3 separate regions of the Homo sapiens genome follow, and regions 1 and 3 are each linked to region 2. The links are contacts of gene promoters, found by promoter capture Hi-C in human tissues and cell types (Jung and others, 2019). All regions are on one chromosome and are shown on one strand. The core of a region is centred on a gene start or on the middle of the fragment in contact, and the rest is flanking DNA. Distances in the headings are between cores, read along the strand shown.

Region 1 (4,450 bases), core at 536-3,035, 350 kb after region 2:
GATTCTGTGCACCTCAGGACTGCGTTTCTGTATTAACCAGAAACTCTTGGACAACAGGTCCAATGCAACTGCGAGGCATATCCAAACCAGCCCCACCCCAGCCCATAGTGCAAAATTCCTGAGGCCACAGAGCAAGTAATAACAGACACCTGATTTGCTCTCCTCTAAGTTCAAAACCTTTTTAAAAACCGTTTGAACTCTCAAATCTTTAATTAAAAATAGAAATAAAACTTATGTTAATCTTTAAATTAAAAATAGAAGAAAAGTTGTTCTCCTGTTTGAACTGCTCTAGACGGTATCACTGAGCTTCTGGAACAGAATCCTAAGTGTGCATGCAGTTGGAGCAGAAACAGGGCAGGTATGGAAGCTTGCAGCATAGACAATGTGATCTGTAGTGTTTCCTGAGCATGTGTTGAACACAAGTGAACAGTACGCGGGGTTATGAAGACATTTTTCTTATGCTAAGTGCCAGAACAGTGAGCAAGGGAAGAAAATTCTAGCACTTATCTTTACATGTTAAACATTATGTGATGGAGGCTGTTTTTATAAAGGTTAGCCTAGTCTAGGTGGTTGACTCTGATGTAGTTTCATCCTGTATCATGTAATCTCAGATTTCTGAACAAGCTCTCCTGCAAATATGGGTGAGAGACCAATCTGAGGATTGTGTCTCATCAACCAGTGGAACTTACCCTCTCACTACACCCCCTCCCCTCTTTCATCATTTATTTGCAAAACAACTCTGAAGAACTTATCATCTGATAATCACACTAAGAATTCACTTAAAAGGGATTATAGTATCCTAGAAAATAGATTCTTCTCTCTGCTTCAAATAGTCTACTTACAGCTTATTCAGAGTTCACTTATATGAGTGACCCATTTACTTTTTATTTTTTATTTTTCCAGAAAGAATTTTTATTATCTTCCCTATTGCATAGATACCATCACTAAAGGTAGAAATAACAAGTCATAATATTCTTACAGCAACCAAAGGATTCCTAGAGCAAATGAGGGTTTCAAATCTACAGTTAATGAAACAAAGGCTTGTGCTACAATTAGGTTCAATAATACTATAATAGAGTTTTAGGGCTTGACGGATTCCTAGAGTCCATTTTGTTCAACCTTATTTTACAGCGAGGGAAAAACTGAGGCCCAGTGGAGCAAAGTGATTTGCCCCAGGTCTTTTTTATAAACTCCCGGCAATGCTGATTCAGAATACAGGTCTCAGCACTCCCAAGGAAGTTATTTTCCTACTGAAACCACCGTTGCAAAAGTTATGACAGTGAGGAAAATTTGACATAGGAAAATCATGACAGTAAAATAAATCTGACCTAACCAACTCTATCTTGCTTCTAATCTCTGAGCTGCCCTTGTTTGTTCCTGGGCATAGGCAGAACTAACTTTGGGAGGAATTTAGTTTTTAGTTTAACTTTGCAACAAAGATGATAACAGCCCCTCCCCAAACAAACCCCCTCCTTACTTGGTAACCAGACCACCTTTGTAAAACCAACAAATTAGCCACAAGATTAGAAGTTATGGCCCAGAAGTCATGCAGCCTGTGTTAAGCCATTCTTGCATTGCTATAAAGAAATACTGGAGGCTGGGTAATTTATAAAGAAAAGAGGTGTAATTGGCTCATGGTTCTGCAGGCTGTAGCAGCACAGCTCCAGCATCTGCTTCTGGTGAGGGCTCAGGAAACTTAGAATCATGGCGGAAGGTAAAAGGGGAGCAGGTATATCATATGGCAGGAGCAGGGGAGACGGGGGGGGGTAGCACCACGAACTTTCAAACAACCAGATTTTGAGTGAACTCAGAGCGAGAACTCACTTATCACCAAAGGGATCCCATTCATGAGTGATCCACCCCCATGATCCAATCACCTCCCATCAGGCCCCACCTCCAACATTGGGAATCACATTTCAACATGAGATTCAGAGGGGACAAATATCCAAACCACATCACAGCTGGAAGTCACAAGATTACAAATCTCTCCAATTATTTCTATGGATACCATTACTATTGTAATGGTAAGATTGGTGTTTGAGGTATTCTTCAGAACCTGAATTCCAATGGATCAGCGGGTGCCAACTAGCCCAGTAAACTGGCTCATCTGGTCTTGGGGTCCAAACCCAGGGGAACTGACTCAGTGCAAGGGGACAGCTTCAGCTCCTTATGATTTCATCCCCAAACCAACCCATCAGTGTTCCCCATTCCCTGGCACCCTGCCCACCAAAGTGTCTTCAAAAGACCCTGGCTTCCAAAGTTTTGGGGAGGCTGATTTCAGTAATAATAAGAGACTCTGGTCTCTTGTTCAGCTGGCTCTATGTGTATTAAATTCTTTCTCTATTGCAATTCCTCTGTCTTGATCAATTCGCTCTATCTTGGCAGTGGGCAAGATGAACCTGGCAAGCAGTTCAATTACTCCTGAGGGAGGAGTGAAGAGGACCAACCTGCTTCTCAACAGCAGAGAAAGTGTCTTCTTGTTCTGTGGCTTACACCAGAGCTTGTGCCCTCCCCACCCCACACCTCTCCTCCACTCTCCTCCAGCAGCCAGTACAGTCCTGGATCCCAAGAGTGTGTCTAACACCTCCTGGGTCGCTGTGACTGCAGGGGTTAAATGCAAGGGCCAGGATCTCATCTTAGCCCTGCAGGATCTTAGCCATGAGACCAAGCCAGGTGCCTCTCTGGGCCTTGTTTTCTCACCTATGAACTGAAAGGTTGGGTCAGGGAGGGAGGACAGGTGCTGCTCGATCCCACCCACACCTAAGATAATTGAGGCTCAGGGAGGGTGTCACCTGCTCTGTTTTTACATAACCACAGAGTGGCAAAGCACAACAGAAATCTAGAGGCAGCCCTGACTCCAAATCACTCTTTCCTCTGCACCATGCTGCTGCTGCTACAGTGATTGATAAGGTCTTCTGCAGTTAGAGACAGAAGGCATAGGAGGAAAGCTAGGAGAAAGGGAGGAGGAGGAGAGGAAGAAAAGAAAGTTCACATCTATGACTTTGCATGTGCACAGACCTTTGTACATCCCCTTACTAAGATAATTCATGATAAACCATTGTAGGAGAGAAACATATCTTTTTCCTCTACCATACTAAGTATGTGGCTGAGGTCCCTGTAACAAAACACAGATTTGCAAGAGAAAACATATAAATCTATTTAAGTTTTACATGACAAGGGAGTCTTCAAAAGGAAATGCAGACCCCATCAGAAACAGCTAAAGCTGTGTGTTTTTATGGCAGATTTGATGAAGTGTGGACACTTGTGGAAAAATGGGATCGGGCAAAAAGAGAATGATCTAATAGTAATAAACTGGGGGAAACCTAGCCAGCCTGTTCAGATTCTTCCCTGTGATGCTGTGTCTTCAGAGATAAGGATGTCCCTTTCCTCCGGGTATAGGAAGGGCAGCTGTCACATGAGGATCTTATGCCCTGCTTCAGGCAAGAAGGGGAGGGAAAGGCCAGGGGGACCTTCCTGCTTCTGCTGTTTACTCAAGTTCCTTCAGCTTAAAATATTCAGTATGCCAGCCAGGTGTGGTGGCTCACGCTTGTAATCCCAGCACTTTGGGAGGCCAAGGCGGGTGGATCACCTGAGGTCAGGAGTTCAAGACCAGCCTGGGCAACGTGGTGAAACCCCGTCTCTACTAAAATACAAAAATTACCTGGGCACGGTGGCACTTGCCTGTAATCCCAGCTACTCGGGAGGCTGAGGCAGGAAGACTCGCTTGAGCCCAGGAGGTGGAGGTTACAGTGAGCCAAGATTGCGCCATTGCACTCCAGCCTGCGCAACAGAGCAAGACTCTATCTCAGAAAAAAAAAAAAGAAAGAAAGAAAGAAAAGAAAGAAAAAATAAATATTCAGTATGCCAAGGTGCCGCTTTTTGGGGTAGGATGTCCTGAACACCGTCATTCTTATCATTTCATCACTGGCACAATTGAAGAGAAAATAACTGTTATTTCATTTTTTTTAGAGACAGAGTCTCACTGTGTCGCTCAGGCTGGAGAGCAGTGGTGCCATCATAGCTCACTGCAACTTCCAATTCCTGGGCTCAAGTGATCCTCTCACTCTCACCTCCCACCTCAGTCTCTGGAATAACTGGGATTACAGGCACGTGCCATCATGCCTGGCTAAATTTTTTTTTTTTTTTTTTTTTTTTTTTTTTTGAGATGGAGCCTCACTCTGTCACCCAGGCTGGAGTGCAGTGGCACGATCTCAGCTCACTGCAACCTCTGCCTCCCGGGTTCATGCAATTCCCCTGCCTGAGCCTCCCAAGTGGCTGGGATTACAGGCACCCGCCACAACACCCAGCTAGTTTTTTTTTGTGTGTGTATTTTTATTAGAGATAGGGTTTCACCATGTTGGTCAGACTGGTCTCAAACTCCTGACCTCAAGTGACCTGCCCACTTTGGCCTCCCAAAGTGCTGAGTTTACAGGTGTGAGCCGCCGTGCCT
Region 2 (4,966 bases), core at 2,387-4,886:
CTTGGCTCATATCATTCAACATCCTCCCCACACTATTAAAATATCATCTTAAGACGCTTACTGTTTGATCATTTTTAGTTTAATTCTAAATGTAACAAGACAAAACTGCCTTAAGTCTTTTCCTTTATGTATTCAGTTATATTCTCTGCTTAAAATACTTAAAAATTGGCACTGATCCATTCACTGATGGGTATTTTAAGTTACAAAGCAGTAACATATCAAATTAACCACACAATGGCAGGCTTACTCCCGACTATGACCATTGCCCAAATCAAGATTTTCATTACCACCTCAATGGACTTGAACATTTTCACCTTAATTGCAAGTTGTTATGTTTCAATCAAATCGACTTTGGCTTAATAGACTGCAATGCAGTTCAGCTACATTCAATATAACAAACCCTTAGTTCACAGTCTCTTAAAATCACCATAGATTTCCTTCCCCTGTAGTCAAGGTCTTGAAAATTCCCTGAATGTTGCTGCATTTGGAAGGTTATAATAGTAAGACAACTTTTATATAGTATTCTACAAATCCTAGTATAACACTGTGCACCTAGTAGACTGAAAAAACAGAATCTTGAGTTAGACTTGGAAATCATCCAAACAACCTCAGTTCACAGATGCAAACACTGATGCCAAAACCTGACCTTAACATGCCCAAGGTCAACAGTTAGAATTTAAGAAAAACTTAAAGCGCAGATTCAATGAGCGTTTTACCACAGTATGTGGAAGATGCTCGTATACAACACCATGCTTGTTTGTTCTTAAGACTGCTGACATATTTATTCTCACATTATACTATAAACTTTGGTGCACAGAAGGTCATATAAAACATTTATCTAATATCAGACATTGTCACCTAAAATGAAATCAAACCAGAAATACATGGCATCTAAGGGTTTTAGATTTCATGTTTATATTACACCTCCATTCTTTTTTCAAAAATAATATAGTAAAGAAAATAGACATTTTGAAAAAAAAGGCTGTGAAACAGACCTTTCTTATGTCAACTCAGAGCCCTCAAAATAAAGACAGTTGGATAAAAATATTAGAGGTGTTTTAGCAATTCTTCCCACAGTAGCTGGCACTGTATGTGCCCAATATATATCTGTTGAATGAGTAACATGCTTACATTTATATGAAATGGAAACTTCACTCCTCTGGTTGTGGATACTTAGAACTGCCAACTTCTCTTGAGAGCAAAAGAAAATAACACCAAATGTACTATTTACAAGTCATACACTATGAAACACTTAAGTAGTTTCAAAATATTTCCAATTAGCAAGAAACTCTAAAACAAATGTAGCAATTCATAAATATAAGGTAGCAACGTAAGTGGTTACAGTAAAACATACACAATTACAAGATTTTTTAAGGCAAACTGGAATTCAGACGAGTTCCCAGAAAGCACACTCTTTTTCGGCAGCATATTGTTGACACTACCTTACTAAATTAAACCCCGAGACAGAAACACTCTCCTGACCAAAACACCAGAACTCCAAAGGAGATAAAAGCACCATAAATATGAGTAAGCACTACAGTATTCATCCTTTTTTTAAATTGTAAGTTTCTATTCTAGTAATAAGGGACCCAAAAACTACTAACATAAATAATAAAAGAGCTTAACAAAATTATACATAACTCTACATTGTAAACTTATTACTTAGGAAAAATTGCATTTCATTTTCCGTAATAAAACTTGAGAGAGGAGTTTTTGGTGCAGTAATGCATGCTCTTGTAACAACTTACATTCCCAAATAGCTAAAGAAGTTGCCAGGAAGTTAAAATGAACTTCAGTGAGTCAGTCATTAAGCTGGATAAAAATAATCATTTCTCAACTTTTCCAAAAACACTCACTCCATGCAAACACGATCGATCCTGATACTGTTTTGCCCTTCCCCCTGCTCAGCTTGGGGAAGAAAAATACAAAAACGATGCTTTTAGGCATTTTAAACAACTTCACTACATTGAGGGTGTGTGTGTGTGTGTGTGTGTGTGTGTCTGTGTGTGTGTTTTCCGAAAAACCAGCATGGTTTTCTGTCATTTCCATTACGCTGAAAAGGACATACAGACATCCATCGAAATCAAAAGCAGGGAAAGCGAACTTACACTTTTCCCCAGATGCTAAGTGACTGCAGTGGCTAAGGTCATGGTCAAAATTCACAGCTCGTTTAAACTTTCCTGGCTGAGCCAACAGCTCCGATCATGTTTCCTGATCCTATCGAAGTGGATTAAAACTGCAGGAGTTTCTCGCTGTCAGATCAGCAGGAGGCTATTTCAGACCCTCGAACCGCAGTCCGCATAGCCCGCAGCGGCGCATCCTCCAATCCCCGACTGTGCGTGACGCTAACCTTTCCACGCGTTCTCCAGCCTTTCCCACACCCCCCACAGCGGGTGCGGCCAACTCGGGACCCCCTCCGCCCGCGCCCGCCGGGACCCCCGCCTGCTGTCCCCGCCCCGGCCGCCCTTCCGCAGTCGGTGACTTCTGCCTGACTCCCCAAAGTGGGGGGAGGCGACGAAGGGAGGAAGACTCCCCGCCAAGGGCTCTCCAGCCCGCACAGCGGCAGGGCGATGCGGGAGAAGCGCAGGGATGCCGCCCGACGCCAGAGCCATATTTACATCGGCTGCTGCTTTGCCAAAAAGCCGACTTGTGCCCAGTAATATTGCCTTTAAAGGAAAAAGAAAGGACCTAAGCACTAAAGCTGCTGCCCCAAATCTGCTCGCGCTCCGGTATCCTCGCCCCAGTGCCCCAGTGGGAGGCTCGCACGCGCCCAGCCCGGGACAGGTACACCTGCCCGCAAGCGGAAGACGCGGGCGCCGCGCGGCCCCCACACCGGGTAGCGGTCGCCCGGACCCGGCCCCCAGCAGCTCCCGCCGGGGCTGACAGCCGAGGCGCCGTGCCCCGCACAAACTTCCTACCTCCCAGGCTGCGGGGACCGACCTGCGGGCGGGCGGGCGGACCGGGGGCGGCACTGGCACCCACCGTGAGACTCACATGCACACGGGACCCCCGACCCGCACCGGGCCATAGATCTAAAGGGGACGCAAGTGGTGGTGCCTGGGCGGCCCAGAGGGCTGGGGGCACGCGCCGCGGGGCTGGGGGCTTCGAGGCGGGCGAGCAGCCGGAGGTCCAGGGCTGACTCCGGCTCCCCGCCCCGCAGCAGCTGCAGCCGGAGGAGGAGGGGAACGAGGAGGAAGAGGAGGAGGAGGAAGGGGACCGCGCGCCGCAGCTGAGCCCTTACCGAGTGGTTTACCCCCCACATGAGGACGCTGAGCAGCGGGTCGCTGGCCCGAAACAGCTTCACTTTCTGCGCTACGAAGTGCTTCTTCTTGGTCTTGGTCTTGCTCGCCAGGACAGAGGACCCTAGGTTGCCGGGGGTCGCCATGGCCGCCTCCTATGTCCCCTCCACCGCCGTGCTCCCGAGGCCGGGGACCCGCCCTCTCTACACCCCGGCCCGGGGAGGCAGCCGCATCCCCCCGGCGGCGGCCCCGGCGCGCCGCGCTCCGCTCCGCCCGCCGCCGCCGGCGCGCTCAGCCCCACTCGGCTCGCTCCGCCCGCTCGGCCCGGCAGACTGCGCTCGGCTCGCGCCCCGGCCCGTATCCTGCGCCCGCCGCGGATCCGCGCTCAGCCCGCGGCTGGACCCGGCGCGCGGCGAGCGGCTTCCGCGTTGGGCGCCGGCGTCATGACGCAGGGGGCGGGCGGGCAGGCGGGAGGCGGCTGCGGCGCCGCGGGCGGGGCACTGGGTGCGGGGCGCGGGGCGCGGCAGCTGGACCGTTAGGCTGCGCCTTCCCGCCCCGGCTCCGCTGCAGCCGGGCCGCCCCCTGTGCGCGGGCGACCTCCGGGCGTTCGCTCCCTGCCCGCGGAGGAGGCCGTGGGTTGCGAGCGGGAGCCTGGGGACCCCGGCTAGGCGTCCCCTGCCGCTCCCCAAGGAGGGAGAGGACAGAGTGGGCAGAGTGAGGAGGTTGGGGAGAGGAGCCCCCAGGCGTCGATCAGGCGAAGGAGGGAGGCTCATGCACTCACCCACGCCACGAGTCAGGAGACCCAGCCAGGTGTGAAATGCTGCAGGGAGACCAGGGCTTCCCAGCACCGAGGGGAAGGACCCGGGCACATTGCCGGGTCAGTCCCTGAAATGAACTTAATACTTTTGTGCGGATAACCGTCTGGCCTTTCAGACCCTCGATATGGGCCTCCTGGAGCCATTCAAGAGGGAGACTCCCACGTAATAGGCTGGGCTGTCACTGCCAACCCACTCCGTGCCCGGGGCAGGAACCTCGGACCTCATCGAGAGCCCTTGGCTTAACCAGTAGAATCATGCCCCAAAGTGCACCTTCTTCCAATCCATCACTATGGTACTTGCCATCCCTGCCTGTTTTCCAGTGCACTCACCGTCCGTGGAAATCTGTTCACCGTCTTCCTCCAGATACACCTAAATGTAGCCCTTATTATGCTGAGAATACTTGGCCTACCTCAGGAAGCTGCCATTCCAAGTATGTCTAAAACCCTGCTGCCCCCATATCGTCCTTGCAGTCGTCATCCTGTGCTATTTACTCTGACCCAGCTCACCAGTCCTCACGGAGTAGGTTCTTGGAAACTGTCACCTTAAGCAAAACAACATATAACAAAACCAAATTTGCCATAGGCTGACATATAAAAAAAGAGTTAAGTTCCTACAGCATTATTTCCGGTTACAAAAACATCACCGAACTTCAAAGTAAAAATTCAAAACACTTCTAATATTAAACATTAAAATAAATGTGAGCTATACCTCTTTTTTATTTTTATTTTTTCCCTTGAGATAGGGTCTCGCTGTGTCAACCAGGCTGGGGGTGCAGTGGTGCAATCACAGCTCACTGCAGGCTCTACTTCCCCAGACTCAGGTGATTCTCCCACTTCAGACTCCCCAGTAGTTGAGACTACAGGCGCGCACCACCAAGCCTGGATAAACTTCTTGTATTTTTGGTAGAGA
Region 3 (5,009 bases), core at 1,759-4,258, 450 kb before region 2:
ATACCAACTCACATCTCATCAGCCAGAACTGGGTCCAAACTAATTCTTAGACCAACCAATATCCAAAGGACTAAAATTACTGGGGTGGTGATATGGTTTGGCTGTGTCCCCACCCAAATCTCATCTTGAATTTTAGCTCCCACAATTCCCACATGTCATGGGAGGTACCCAGTGGAAGGTAATTGAATCATAGGGTCAGGTCTTTCTCATGCTGTTCTCAAGATAGTGAATAAGTCTTCTGAGATCGGATGGTTTACTTATAAAGAGGAGTTCCCCTGCAAAAGTTCTCTCTCTTTGCCTGTTGCCATCCATATAAGATGTGACTTGCTCCTCCTTGCCTTCTGCCATGACTGTGAGGTCTCCCCAGCCATGCCGAACTGTGAGTCCATTAAACCTCTTCCCTTTATAAATTACCTAGTCTTGGTTATGAGTTTATCAGCAGCATAACAACAGACTAATACAGGTGGGATATAGTAGACTCATTGCACAATATCTCCCCCAGCCTTCTTCTACTGTGCCTTCCTGTACTGAGAAGCTAAAAACTACCTTTCCCAGGCTCCCCTGCAGCTAGGGAATGGAGCAGAGTGGGGAGAAAGGTAGGGTACACCTGTCTATTTTGTTGATGTCAATTAGCAGAGGTAGGGTGGTGTGGAGTGATTAAATAGGTGCTTCTTTACGTCTTCTTTGTAAGATGATTTGAGTCATTATTAACTCCATTAAGTTTGTCACATTTTGGCTTTTGTCTCCTGCTATTTCAATAAAAACTGTTGCGAAATTAAGTAACCCACAATAGAGCACTTCATAGCATATATGGTTGATGAGTGGTGCCTGAAGCAAGATAAATTTCTTTGGTCTCAGAATCACAAATTACCAGGCTTCTTTCTCCAAGGGCACAGCTACTGCTGCTGGTAATGGTGGTGGTATGTGTGATTTCTCTAAATCACCTAGGCACTGAGAATTACAACTAATGGTGTTTTTTTCCCTCTTGACTCTTAAGAAGTTTTAAGGCAAATGCATGGATTTTTCCTGAAAGTATAGTCTTCTTTGTATATATTTTGTGTGATAACCTCTCTTCTGATTCTGTCTTTTCTACTCTTATTTCCCTTTTTCTTGGTTCCCTTACTTATTTTTATTTCACTTTGTTGCATATGTTTTTTTCCACATGGCAGAAACCCTTTCTGGAAATAGATAGGATTATAAGACTATGTCTGCTAAAGGAGAAAAACTATTAAGTAAAGACATCTGGCTCCTTTCCAACTTGGGCCTGGCACAATGGCTGCTGCAAAGAAGGGTGGAAAGAAGAAAGGCTGTTCTGCCATCAGCAAGGTGGTGGCCCAAGAATACACCATCAACATTCAGAAATGCATCCATGGAGTAGGCTTCAAGAAGTGTGTCCCTTGGGCATTCAAAGAGATCTGGAAATTTGCTGTGAAGGAGGTGGGAACTCCAGATGTGCGTGTTGATACCAGGCTTGACAAAGCTGTCTAGGCTGAAGGAATAAGGGTGTCCCATACCCACCCATGTGTGGTTATCCAGAAAACGTGATGAGGATGAAGATTCACCAAATAAGTTCTATACTTTGGTTACCTATGCACCTGTTACCACTTTCAAAAATCTACAGACAGGCAGGATACGGTGGTCATGCCTATAATCCTAGCACTTTGGGAGGTTGAGGCAGGCGGATCACTTGAGCTCAAGAGTTTGAGACCAGCCTGGGCAACATGGTGAAACCTTGCCTCTACAAAAAAAACACAAAAAATGCCGGGCATGGTGAAACCCCATCTCTACTAAAAATACAGAAAAATTAGCTGGGCATGGTGGCCCACGCCTTTAATCCCAGCTACTTGGGAGGCTGAGGCAATAGAGTTGCTTGAACCTGGGAGGTGGAGGTTGCAGTGAACCGAGATTGTGCCACTGCACTCCAGCCTGGGCAACAGAGTGAGACTCCATCTCAAAAAAAAAAAAAAAACCCAGGTGTGGTGGCTCACGCCTGTAATCCCAGCACTGTGGGAGGCCAAGGCGGGTGCATCACCTGAGGTCAGGAGTTCTAGACCGGCCTGGCCAACATGGTGAAACCCCATCTCTACTAAAAGTACAAAAATTAGTTGGGTGTGGTGGCATACATCTGTAATCCCAGCTACTCGGGAGGCTGAGGCAGAAGAATCGCTTTAACCCAGGAGATGGGGGTTGCAGCAAGCCAAGATCACACCACTGCACTCCAGCCTGGGTGACAGAGCAAGACTCCGTCTCAAAAAAAATAACCAAACACACACACACACACACACACACAATTAGCTGGGCATGGTGGCACACGCCTGTGGTCCCAGCTACTCTGGAGGCTAAAGTGAGAGAATTGTTTGAGATTGGGAGGTCAAGCCTGCAGTGAGCCGAGATGGCATCACTGCACTCCAGCCTGGGCGACAGAGCCATATCCTGTCTCAAGAAAAAAAAAATTATAGTCAATATGGATGAGAACTAAGCAGTGATCGTCAAATACATGAAATAAAATTATAAAACCACAAAAAGTAAAGACATCTGAGCTCCCAAATTAGAAAAACTATCACTAATGCTACATATCATAAATAAAAATTGGGGAATAGACACTTTATGGCTATAAAATAATGTTAGTAGAATATTTTAAGTTGGTCTCAAACATGAATCTCTACTTTCTTTCTCAAAAAGAACAAAAAACAAAAACAAAAAAATACAGACTTTCCTCCATATGCTTGCCATAAACTATGAACAGGATGAGTGTAAAAGATGGTCAGTATTGGCCTTAAACCATATTACTATAGTGAGAAAGACTCCACACATCACAGAATTTAACTGGACATGTTTGCACCAACACTTTAAAGAAGATAAATGCATATAGAAATGTTCCAAACACTGGTAGACAGCACTGCCAGGTGAGAAACCCACACCCAAATGACAGCAGTGATTTCTGAGATGATTTAGAGTGGGACCACAAACTAGACTGTGGAGCGATGTGTGGGCAGCAGGCAGTGGTTGCACACAGCCCTGCTCTGACTGCAGCGTCCTGGCCCCAACCAGAAGCTTCCCAGGCTGCCATATTTTTAAAACTAGATGAGATTCCTTTACAGCATTTGAAGGATTCTGCTGTTGTCAAGCCAGTTAAAAATGTGATTGGCCATCCAATTAACAAATTCAAAAGCACAGAAATGTCTGTTTTATGAAATGCAATAAGACGCAATGATTCAGCCTCATGGCTTTCTAATCAGAGCAAAATTTTTACCCCAAATAGTAATTAACCTGCTTCATCAAGTTTGTTTACTAAACACAGTTCCTCTAAAAGGTTTCTGCTTCCCATTCCACTCCCAGTTCAAGTTCATTCTCAAACGCATTTATTAGCATTGAGTCCATTCAAAAGAGTGAGCTGAAGGCCATTTAAGAGGCATTCTCTTAAAATGAGAAAATCTCAATTTTGAGTAAAGGAGAATTATTGAATAAGGGAGTAACCTGTTGGAGACTTCCCTCCTTAAAATCAGTCCTTGCTTCTCCAACGCATTCACAATAAATTCCAAAACCCGGCCGGGCATGGTGGCTCACGCCTGTAATCCCAGCAGTTTGGGAGGCTGAGGCAGGCGGATCATGAGGTCAGGAGTTCGAGACCAGCCAGTTTGAGACCAGCCTCGCCAACATGGTGAAACCGCATCTCTACTAAAACGACAAAAATTAGCCGGGCATGCCTGTAATCCCAGCTACTCGGGACGCTGAGACAGGAGAATCGTCTGAAGCCAGGAGGTGGAGGTTGCAGTGAGCTGAGATCACGCCACTGCACTCCAGCCTGGATGGCACAGCAAGACTTCATCTCGAAAATAATACTAATAAAATAAAATCCAAAACCCTTGGTGTGGCATACACGATTTTTTATTATCTGAACCCTGTTCTTCTCCCTAGCTGCATCTCTGGTCACTCCTCACTGCCCTACAAGATGGGACCATACTGAATTACATGTGGCTCCATAAATACGCCTCACACTCTTTTGCCTCCAGATATCTACACAGTAACCCCAGAACTGTAACCTACCTCCTCTGTCCACTTTTCTTGCCTAACGACTGAGGCCCATGATCTTCACCTCCACCAGGGAACCTTCTTTCACCCCTATTTTTTGGGTACCTCATTGTATCCCATACTCGGTTGTACTCCTTAAGCTGTCCTGAAGTTGTCTGTGTACTCTTCTGGCTCCAACTGTAAGTTCCTTAAAAGCAAGGATTGTGTTATGTTTATCACTACATCTCTAGCACCCAAAAGAGTCCCTGGAACACAGGAGGAGCTAGATACATATTTGTTGAATGAATGAAAGCTATTATTCTGAAGGAAACAATATACTTGCATAAATAGTTTTGCTGTATTTGGGGAAGAAAGTATTAATTTATGGACACAATTTATGTCTTATCAATATTCAGGTTTCCTAAAAAGTACCTAAAAAGTATCATGCAAGTTGGTAATCCTACTACTTGCATTTTTGTCCCACGTCAAATTTATGAAAACTTCATCATAGCTTAAATGAGAAATGTGTAAATCAAAATATTCTTTTAAAGAATAAAAATGCTTTCTAAATAGAGCTCACTATTAAGTTAAAATTTGAAACAACTCTTAGTCATAGTTCCCTGTAGAATAGGAGACTAGCCGGGTGCAGTGGCTCACAGCTGTAATCCCAGCACTTTGGGAGGCCAAGGCAGGCAGATCTCTTGAGGTCAGGAGTTCAAGACCAGCTTGGCCAACATGGTGAAACCCCATCTCTATTAAAAATACAAAAATTAGTGGAGCATGGGGGCACACTTCTGTAATTCCAGCTACTCGGGAGGCTGAGGCAGGAGAATCACTTGAACCCAGGAGGTGGAGGTTGCAGTGAGCCGAATTCACACCACTTCATTCCAGCCTGGGCGACAGAGCAAGACTCCATCTCAAAAAAAAAAAAAAAAAGCAAACTGGTTGTATTTTTATTTTCTAAAGAGTGAAGGGCTCTTTTGCAAGCTGAGAAGAAA

What was found. The method cuts DNA at HindIII sites, captures the fragments that hold promoters and counts their contacts. A contact is called where the count stands out against the background at its distance.
Region 1: a contact is called between a fragment that was not itself captured here and the fragment with the promoter of PIP4K2A in region 2, in 1 of the 25 tissues and cell types used here (thymus).
Region 3: a contact is called between a fragment that was not itself captured here and the fragment with the promoter of PIP4K2A in region 2, in 1 of the 25 tissues and cell types used here (spleen).

The regions. Positions count from the first base shown.
Region 1 is chr10:23,058,510-23,062,959 of GRCh38, forward strand. The region is part of intron 2 of LOC107984215 (a long non-coding RNA gene); the gene reads right to left. Among named protein-coding and RNA genes, the nearest start is that of MSRB2, 35 kb to the right of the region's middle. The HindIII fragment of the contact is 7,674 bases long and covers 1-4,450 here.
Region 2 is chr10:22,710,942-22,715,907 of GRCh38, forward strand. PIP4K2A (phosphatidylinositol-5-phosphate 4-kinase type 2 alpha) reads right to left here and starts at 3,637. Exons shown (of 10, transcript NM_005028.5): 1 at 3,242-3,637. The coding sequence starts at 3,385. RefSeq lists silencers at 2,373-2,482, 2,783-2,902, 3,073-3,152, 3,453-4,122 and enhancers at 3,283-3,891, 3,892-4,499. The HindIII fragment of the contact is 14,782 bases long and covers 1-4,966 here.
Region 3 is chr10:22,265,719-22,270,727 of GRCh38, forward strand. It overlaps the pseudogene RPL31P45. Among named protein-coding and RNA genes, the nearest start is that of TRN-GTT2-3, 39 kb to the left of the region's middle. The HindIII fragment of the contact is 5,423 bases long and covers 298-5,009 here.